Regions from separate parts of the Homo sapiens genome. Here regions 1 and 3 are each linked to region 2. The links are contacts of gene promoters, found by promoter capture Hi-C in blood cells and fetal thymus (Javierre and others, 2016). All regions are on one chromosome and are shown on one strand. Each heading gives the region's core, a stretch centred on a gene start or on the middle of the fragment in contact. The rest is flanking DNA. Distances are from core to core; before and after follow the strand shown. Region 1 has its middle 13 kb from the start of NLRP1. Region 2 holds the start of PITPNM3 (PITPNM family member 3). Region 3 overlaps NLRP1 (NLR family pyrin domain containing 1).

Region 1 (2,700 bases), core at 73-2,572, 960 kb after region 2:
CCCCCTTCTGAAAGCCCTTGTGAAGCCTGCGTGATGCTGTGTAATCTCCCAGGCAGCTTCGTTTATCACTATTCTACGTTCCTACAGATTCTTAGTGTAATGACACCCTTTCTGAGGCAGCAGCGATGGTGCCAAATGGCACTTGCATTTCCAGGAAAGCAGCCAAACTCATTAAGTTAATAAAGGAATTTAGCTGTATAGAGATGCCTCCTTCACATACATTCCCGAAAAACCCTCACTCTCACAACTCAGCAGCAGCAGCCGTTAAATCTCTGCCTCCACCTGCAAAGCACTGGCCCCACTGAGTCAAACCGCATTGGCCCTGCGGTCAGCTGCAGAAGACAGGGCACATCTCAGAGCCTGGCCAGCTGACTTCTCTGCCACTTCTGCTCCCAAAGCAGCTCCCCAAGGTCCCTCTCTCCGTGCCAGAGTGAGCCCCATTAGGGCCCACAGATCCTGGTCAGGGATGGGACAGGCTCCCTCTGCCTGGTTGTTATAGCTGGACTGTCTGGAGTCACAGCATAGCCTGGGCTGGTAGGAAGCAGTTGTCACATGAACCATCACAAGTGCCACCTGTGTGGTCTTCTTGCCTCGGTCTTACCCTCTCTGATCACACTTCCCCGTTGCAGCCAGGGGAATCTTTCTAAACTATAAATCTCCCTGTATCACTCCTCCAGCATATTGTTTCAACAGCTCCACATGACTCGCAGGAGGCCAGTCCAAACTCCTAGTAGCATCAGGCCTCCCAGGGTACCTCCACCACCACTTGCCTCTCCAGCCTCTGCTCACATCATCACCCATCCAGCTCCCAAAACACACCCAGCTCTCCCTCACTCCAGGCCTTTGGGTACCACTCTCCAGATGCTGTGATGCCTTCACCAGCCCCTCTGCTTCCTCTTCCTGCATAACTACAGTTTTTCCTTCAAGACTCCATGCAGAAATCTCTTCCTCCTGGAAGCTTTACCTGGCATCCCAAGTTTCCTTAACTCAGGTGCTCCTCTTTTAAACCCCACAGCAACTGGTGTGCCCACACACCTGAGCCCATACCACACTGAATTGTGGTCATCTCCTTTATTCTCAGTCTCCACAGTTGTGGAGCACACAAAGAGCAGGCACTGTCTTTTTCACCTCTGCATTCCCACGTACCTGGCACACACAGGCACTACATAAATGAAGCCACAGGCTCCTGTCTTGTGGAATGGGCCTCAGTGTCCTGCATGTTGAATTCCTGTCTCCTGCCATCCTATCTCCTCAATGACCTTTATAGAAATGTCCACCCTTGGCCGGGCACGGTGGCTCACACCTGTAATCCTAGCACTTTGGGAGGTCGAGGCAGGCAGATCACAAGGTCAGGAGTTTGAGACCAGCCTGGCCAACATGGTGAAACCCCGTCTCTACTAAAAATACAAAAATTAGCTGGGCATGGTGGCACACACCTGTAATCCCAGCTACTCGGGAGGCTGAGGCAGGAGAATCACTTGAACCTGGGAGGCGGAGGTTGCAGTGAGCCAAGGTCACGCCACTGCACTCCAGCCTGGGTGACAAAGTGAGACTCCACCTCAAAAAAAAAGACAAAAAAGGAAAAGAAATGTCCACCCTTTTTCTAGTGCCCAGATCTCTCTTCCTTGCCCTCTCTTAGCTTTTTCTCTTCTCCTCTATCATACATACTTGTCAAACTGAAGCTTTAAGTATTTTCATTTCTCCACTCTTGGGAAAGGTTTCACCTGGTCCCATCTGCTGCCTTGGAGTGACCCATCCATCTCTCCAGCCCTGGTTCCCTCACCTCAGTTCCTACACCTTTAACTCCACCAAGGGTTGGGGAGTCCCTTCACCCTCCTGCCATCCTGCAAAGGGATGTGAGAGCCACCAGGGGGTCAGCCTCTGGTCCACTCAGCCCCGGTTCTGGCTCCAGCCAGGTCCCCTAAGACACATTATCACTGCTCCATAGTGGGGGGTGGCTGCATGACAGACTCATTTCCCTTAATCATCCTACACTGATCAATTGTTGAGTTCAGCCAAGCCTCTCAGGAAGGGTTTATATTTCCTATTGGCACCAGCTCTTGGCATAATGAATTGCTGGAGTTTACTAGCATCTGAATGTGTTTCAAACACTCTTCTTCCAAGTGTCAAGGCACAGAAGGTAATTAGCATCCTGGAAGTAGTGGCCACATGTGGGTTGTGGTCTTGCACAAAGCCTCCTACCCCACTCCGCCAGGATTCAGAATCCTCCTCCATAAGAACCAACAGAAGCATTGATTCAGCCAAGGATCCAGATCACCGAAATCTCTGAAAGGGAATCATAAGGCAAATAGCTGCAGGAGGCAACACTGGTGCTTATAAGGGCCACCAATGGCTGGCTTGCAGGAACACTGTGGCCAAGACAAGAGACCCCTATGGGTAGAACCCAGGGCAGAGGCTGGTCTAGGAACCCCAGGACTGAACCTTCAGCTGACTGATGAAAGAAGACTATGATGATCAGGATCTAGTCGGGAAAACCGAAACCACTCTAGTATTTCCATCACAGGGAATTTGATAGGAAGGACGGGCCACAGTGAGGATAAAAAAGATGAAGAAGCCACGCAGAGATGGTAAAGCCACCCAAATATGAGCAACAGCAGGGGCTAGTTTCCCCTCCAACAGCTGCAGGACACGGGGGTGACAATATTACCAAAACCGAGAAGCCAGGGCCACCCAGCCCGA
Region 2 (2,700 bases), core at 89-2,588:
CCCTGGTTTTGTTGGGTGAGGTGTCGGAAGGCAGAGCAGAACTCATGGATGGGACATGCGGGTTGTAGATTTCAGCTCAAACGAGTAAGAACATTCTTAAGGCCAGCACTAGCCAAAAAAAAAAAAAAAAAATTAATAAAAGGAAGAACTCTCACTTAAGATACTGAGCTTCCTGTCCTTGGAGGTAACCAACCAGGAGCTGGAGGACTGCTTAGCAGGAATCTTGTGAATGGAGTCAAAGCCCCAGAGAAGGCACTGGACTGAGAGCCCCCATCTAACCCCATGTGTGCCCTGTTTCCATAGAGGAGCTTGCAGGACCCTGGAGCCTGGACCATGGATGGAATTCTCCAGTTGACCTTTTCCCTGTTAAGTGGAGTGGGACAGGGTGGGTTGGGTGCCTGGCTCTACAGATGGTAACTGGGCTTCAGCCTTACCAATTCCTGGGGGAGGCAGGGCACCCTCTCAGTGGAGGGTTGTTACCTCTCAGGCACCGCCAAATACAATTGGCCATCTCCTGCTCTCTTTTGGGGCTGGACTGTGGATCCCTGCTGCCCCTAAACAGAAGTCATAACCCATATCTCCCCGGACCACAAGGCCTGTCCACTAGAATCTCTGCATCCCGATTTAGGAAGTGGAAGGCGGGTACTGCTCACCACCAGGCCGCTGGGGTCCACAAAGCCTGCTCCAGCCTAGAACCCCAGGTGGATGTGCAAGTGTTTTACTTATCCCTTGAGGGTTAAAATCACGGGAATCCTTTCTCTTTTGAGGTTAGGTCAGACGCCATAAATGATCCAGAACCCCTGGAGCGGGGGCTGATGGAGGGGGTCCCTCTCTTGTCTCTGATCCCAGAGCGACTTTCCTCTTGACTTCGTGGGGGCCTCCCTTGGATCCCTGTCCTCCTTCCTCTCTCCGCTCCCTCTGTCCGTCTCTCCCGGAGCCGGAGCCGGGCTCTGGGTCTCTGGTCTCCTCTGAATTTCTCTCTCTCTCCCTCCACCTCGGCGTTCTGGCCCTAGGAGCGTCTCTCTCCAGCGCTGTCTAATAGTCTGTGCGCCCCTCTCCCAGTCCAGGGCCCCGTCTCTGGCCCGCAGTGTCTCGGGCTGTCTCCGCGTCTCTGAGCCCCTGGGCTGCCGCCCCTCGCGCGCTGCGGTGGCCGCGCGGGCCGGAGCGGAGCGGGCTGGAGCGCGGCGGCCACGGCCCGGGGCGGGGGTGCGGGCCCGCGGGGGCGGCGTTGGGCGCCTTCCTTCGTCAGTCCCTCCCCGGCGGCGCGGGGGGTGGGGTGGGGGGGGGGCGCGGCCGCCGCTCGGCGCCTTTAAGGGAGCGGGAGGGAGCGGCGAGGCGGCGGCGGCTGCGGTGGCGGCAGCCGAGGCGAGCGGGGCGGGGGCGCGGGCGCGGCGCTCGGAGTCCGTTCGGGGCCGGAGGCGGTCGGGGCCGGGCCCGGGAAGCGCGAGGAGCGCGCGTAGCGCCGCCGGAGCCCGCCGCCCGGGACATGGCCAAGGCGGGCCGTGCAGGTGAGGGCGGGCGCGGGGAGGGCAGGGCCGGGGCCCGGGGGAGGGACTCGCGCGTCTAGAGGAGGGGCCGCCGGCCCAGGTGAACCCCTCGCGCAGGTGGGCGGAGGTCCCGGGAGGGCGTAGGGGGCGGTAGCGGGGCTGGACCTCCCGCGCGTGGAGAGGGGGCTCCGCGCGCCCCCCGTCCTTCCTGCGCCCCCGGTCACCTCGGGGGACACCGCGTCCCCTTCTCCACGGCCCCGCCGGAAAGGGCCAGGTCTGCGGCGCCCCGGGCCAGTCCCGCCGTTGGGAGCCCTCTGCACCCCGCGGAGGCCCCGGGCAGACCCGGGCTTCGCCACCGAAGGGGATGTCCCGCGGCCGCCGCTTCGTCCCACACCCCAACGCAAACCGGGACGCGCCCCCTGCTCCTGCAGCTCTCTCCATCCAGGACGCCACAACCCCCCGCCCCAGCCCCCGTCACCAGCTCAGTCCAGAGACCCAGATTCCTTCTCGGGAAGGAGGGGAGCCCCGTGCCGCGCCGGCTGCTGGCCGCCCCGCCCCCTCCCCCATCGACCCTGGGACGCAAAGCCTCAGCTGCGGAGGCCTCTTCTGGGGTCCCGTGGGCTCTGCCCTCCCCCAGGCTCAGACGGTGTAGCCTGTGGTTTGAGGGAGCGGGCATTAGTCATTCGTTCATTCATCCAGCCCGACGTTCATTCACTAGCATCTGCTCTGTGCCAGACCCTGAGCTGGGCACCGGGGCTCAGGCGGACTCAGCCCCCCTGCTGCGCCCATGCTGGGGAGACCCAGGCCCGTGACTCATCGGGCACATTCTGGGCCCGATGGTGCCTTGGGAGGCGGGTGGAGGACAGCTGTGCCCACAGGGCCGGCCATACAGTAGGCGGCAGCAAGCCTGGTCTCGGCAGTGCCTCTTGTGAGGCTGGCGTGTGAGAATCTACCATGAACTCACACCCAACCCGTGACGTTGGCTGGTGCCATGCCGTCCCCCAGGACCGGGCGCGACAGTGAAGGAATGGGTGTGAATACCATCGGGCTGTGTGTCAATCCACCCCCAAGCCCGAAAGCTGCCCGGGACCCTGGGCTGCGGACCCGTCTCCCTGTGCAGGCACTGAGCCTGTAAGATTTAGGTGCCTGAGAATGCACTCCCGTTCTGTCCCCAAGGAGTCCTGTCGGGGTGGGGCCGGTTGTGTGAGGCACA
Region 3 (2,738 bases), core at 57-2,556, 990 kb after region 2:
TAACAAAGAATATAGTTGGATTGTTTGTAACTCAAAGGTTAAATGTTTGAGGAGCTGCATACCCCATTCTCCATGATGTGCTTATTTTACAGTGCTTACTTGTATCAAACCATCTCATGGATCCCCATAAATACATACACCTACTACATATCCACAAAATTTTTAAAAAATAATTTTAAAATTTTAAAAAAGAAAAGAAATTATTGGCTGGAATTTCTTTTCTTTAAGGATGCTGAATATAGGCCCCCAATCTCTTCTGCCTTGCAGGGCTTCTGCTGAAAAGTTCACTGTTAGCCTGATGAGGTTCCCTTTTTAGGTGACCTGCCCCTTCTGTGTCTAGCTGCCTTTATTGTTTTTTCTTTCATGTTGGCCTTGGAGAATCTGAGGACTTGGGGAATCTGAGAACTATGTGTTTTAGGGATGATTGTCTTGTATAGTATCTCACAAGGATTCTTTGCATTTCCTGAATTTAAATGTTGGCTTCTCTAGGGAGGTTGGGGAAACTTTTGTGGACAATATCTTCAAATACGTTTTCCAAGTTGCTGGCTTTCTCATGCTCTTTCAGGGATGCCAGCGAGTCATAGATTTGGTCTCTTTCCAAAATCCCATATTCCTCAGAGGTGTTGTTCATTTGTTTTCATTCTTTTTTATTTTTGTCTGACTGAGTTAATTTGGAGAACCAGTCTTCAGGCTCTGAGATTCTTTCCTCAGCTTGGTCTATCCTGTTGTTAATACTTGCTATTGTATTATGAAATTCTTGTAGTGAGATTTCCAGCTCTATCAGATCAGTTTGGTTCTTTCCTAAAATGACCATTTCGTCTTTCAGCTCCTGTATCATTTTATCATATTCCTTAGATTGCTTGGACTGGATTTTGACTTTCTCCTGAATCTCAATGATCTTCATTCCTACTCATATTCTGAATTCTATGTCTGTCATTTCAGCCATTTCAGCCTGTTAAAATACCATTGCTGAGGCACTAGTGCACACATCTGGAGATAGGAAGACACTGTGGCTTTTTGAGTTACCAGAGCTCTTGAGCTGGTTCTTTCTCGTGTGTGTGGGCTGATGTTCCTTTAATCTTTGAAGTTGTCTTCCTTTGGATGGGGTTTTTTTTGTTTTGTTTTTATCTTGTTTGAAGCCCTTGGGGGTTTGATTGTCGTATAAGGTGGGTTCAGTCAACTGGCTTCGATTCTGGAAGATTTCAGGTGGCCAAGGCTCAGCTCAGCACTCCTGAGCTGCCTGCTCTAACTCTAGAAGGCTGGTACTGGGTCCCCAGCCTTTTCCTCTGGCCTCCTGGGGTTCAGAACCTGCTGCATTAGAGGGGCCAAGGTGTTCCCAGTCCGCTGGCCTCAACAGTCCAGTGGGGGTGCAGGCCAAAGTGCTTCCTTGTGGCAGTGCCAGCAGGATCTGTGCTCACTCACACATGGCACCAGCCACAGTGGCATGGCAGGGTGCGTGTGTGTTGGCTGGGGCAGGGCACTGGTGGGAGCCTTTGCCTTAGTTTTCATGGCACTGAATACTGCAAAACATTTTGGTGTTGTATTTTGGGGCCGCCATCCAGTAGGCAGTGCTTAAGAGTGATCACCAGGAGATACACTCTTACTCTGCTGCGTGGTTCTTCATGTTTCAGTACAGTTGGCAGTAGTGTTCTGTGTGTGTTGGGGACAGGGGGGTGACCTTCTCACTTAGTCCACTCCTGGGCCTTAGACAAGACCCTTCTGATTACTGGCTCCACACCTGCATTTCTTTTGTTGGGTGTTCTGGTAAACGGGGTTCCTTCAGGCAGGGGCCGTGGTTGGCAGACAGGCCGTATCCTTGCTGGGTCCGCCCTGCAGAGAGAGGCATACCTCCTCCACCTCACTCCTCCACCAGCCTACAAACTCGGACATCTCACCTCTGTCAGTGATAAGAGAATGAGGGCTCTTCCCTGCTTGGGCATTGTCCAAACCAGCAAGTCCTGCTCAGCTAGGATCTGCAGAAGTGGGTGGGGTCACGTAATCAGCTGTCTGGGTGCTTCCCAGAGGAACAGGGGATGGCACCCACCCACAGAGTAGCGGGACTGCTGGGCTGGAAGCTCTAGCAGGTGTGGCCCATCTGGCTACCACAGGCAGAGGTGGTTGGAGTCACCCACCCTGCCATCTGGGTGTTTCCCTGGGCAGTAACAGGAGGCTGCACCCCTCAGCCGGATTCAGACAGAATTAGGACCACTGCGCTGGAAGCTCTAGCAGACATGGCCTGCATGGCTAGGAGAGGCGGTGGTGGGTGGAGTCACCCACCCTGCCTTCAGAGTGTTTCTCGGGGAACCGGGAGTTTGCCTCTGCTGGCTGAGTTCAGACAGAAGCAGACTGCTAGCAGACATTGCCCGCCTGGCTACCAGTGGCAGGGATGGGCAGAGTCACCCCCTCTGCTGTCCAAGTGGGGAACCTGAACAAAATAATATCCCAAAGAACAGTTTCATGGCAAGTATAAAAACCACATGGGGCCGGGCGCGGTGGCTCACGCCTGTAATCCCAGCACTTTGGGAGGCCGAGGCGGGTGGATCATGAGGTCAGGAGATCGAGACCATCCTGGCTAACAAGGTGAAACCCCGTCTCTACTAAAAATACAAAAAATTAGCCGGGCGCGGTGGCGGGCGCCTGTAGTCCCAGCTACTCGGGAGGCTGAGGCAGGAGAATGGCGTGAACCCGGGAAGCGGAGCTTGCAGTGAGCTGAGATTGCGCCACTGCAGTCCGCAGTC

Evidence for each region. The method cuts DNA at HindIII sites, captures the fragments that hold promoters and counts their contacts. A CHiCAGO score of 5 or more calls a contact.
Region 1: a contact is called between a fragment that was not itself captured here and the fragment with the promoter of PITPNM3 in region 2, in 1 of 17 cell types (M1 macrophages). The highest score is 5.2, in M1 macrophages.
Region 3: a fragment that was not itself captured here is called in contact with the fragment with the promoter of PITPNM3 in region 2 in 2 of 17 cell types (M2 macrophages and M1 macrophages); the score reaches 6.5 in M2 macrophages.

Annotation. Positions count from the first base shown.
Region 1 is chr17:5,596,051-5,598,750 of GRCh38, reverse strand. No RefSeq gene overlaps it. Among named protein-coding and RNA genes, the nearest start is that of NLRP1, 13 kb to the right of the region's middle. The HindIII fragment of the contact is 724 bases long and covers 961-1,684 here.
Region 2 is chr17:6,555,193-6,557,892 of GRCh38, reverse strand. It overlaps PITPNM3 (PITPNM family member 3), which reads left to right and starts at 1,338. Exons shown (of 20, transcript NM_031220.4): 1 at 1,338-1,508. The coding sequence starts at 1,487. RefSeq lists an enhancer at 2,427-2,700. The HindIII fragment of the contact is 11,474 bases long and covers 1-2,700 here.
Region 3 is chr17:5,561,486-5,564,223 of GRCh38, reverse strand. The region is part of intron 3 of NLRP1 (NLR family pyrin domain containing 1); the gene reads left to right. Among named protein-coding and RNA genes, the nearest start is that of NLRP1, 22 kb to the left of the region's middle. RefSeq lists an enhancer at 2,124-2,625. The HindIII fragment of the contact is 5,112 bases long and covers 1-2,738 here.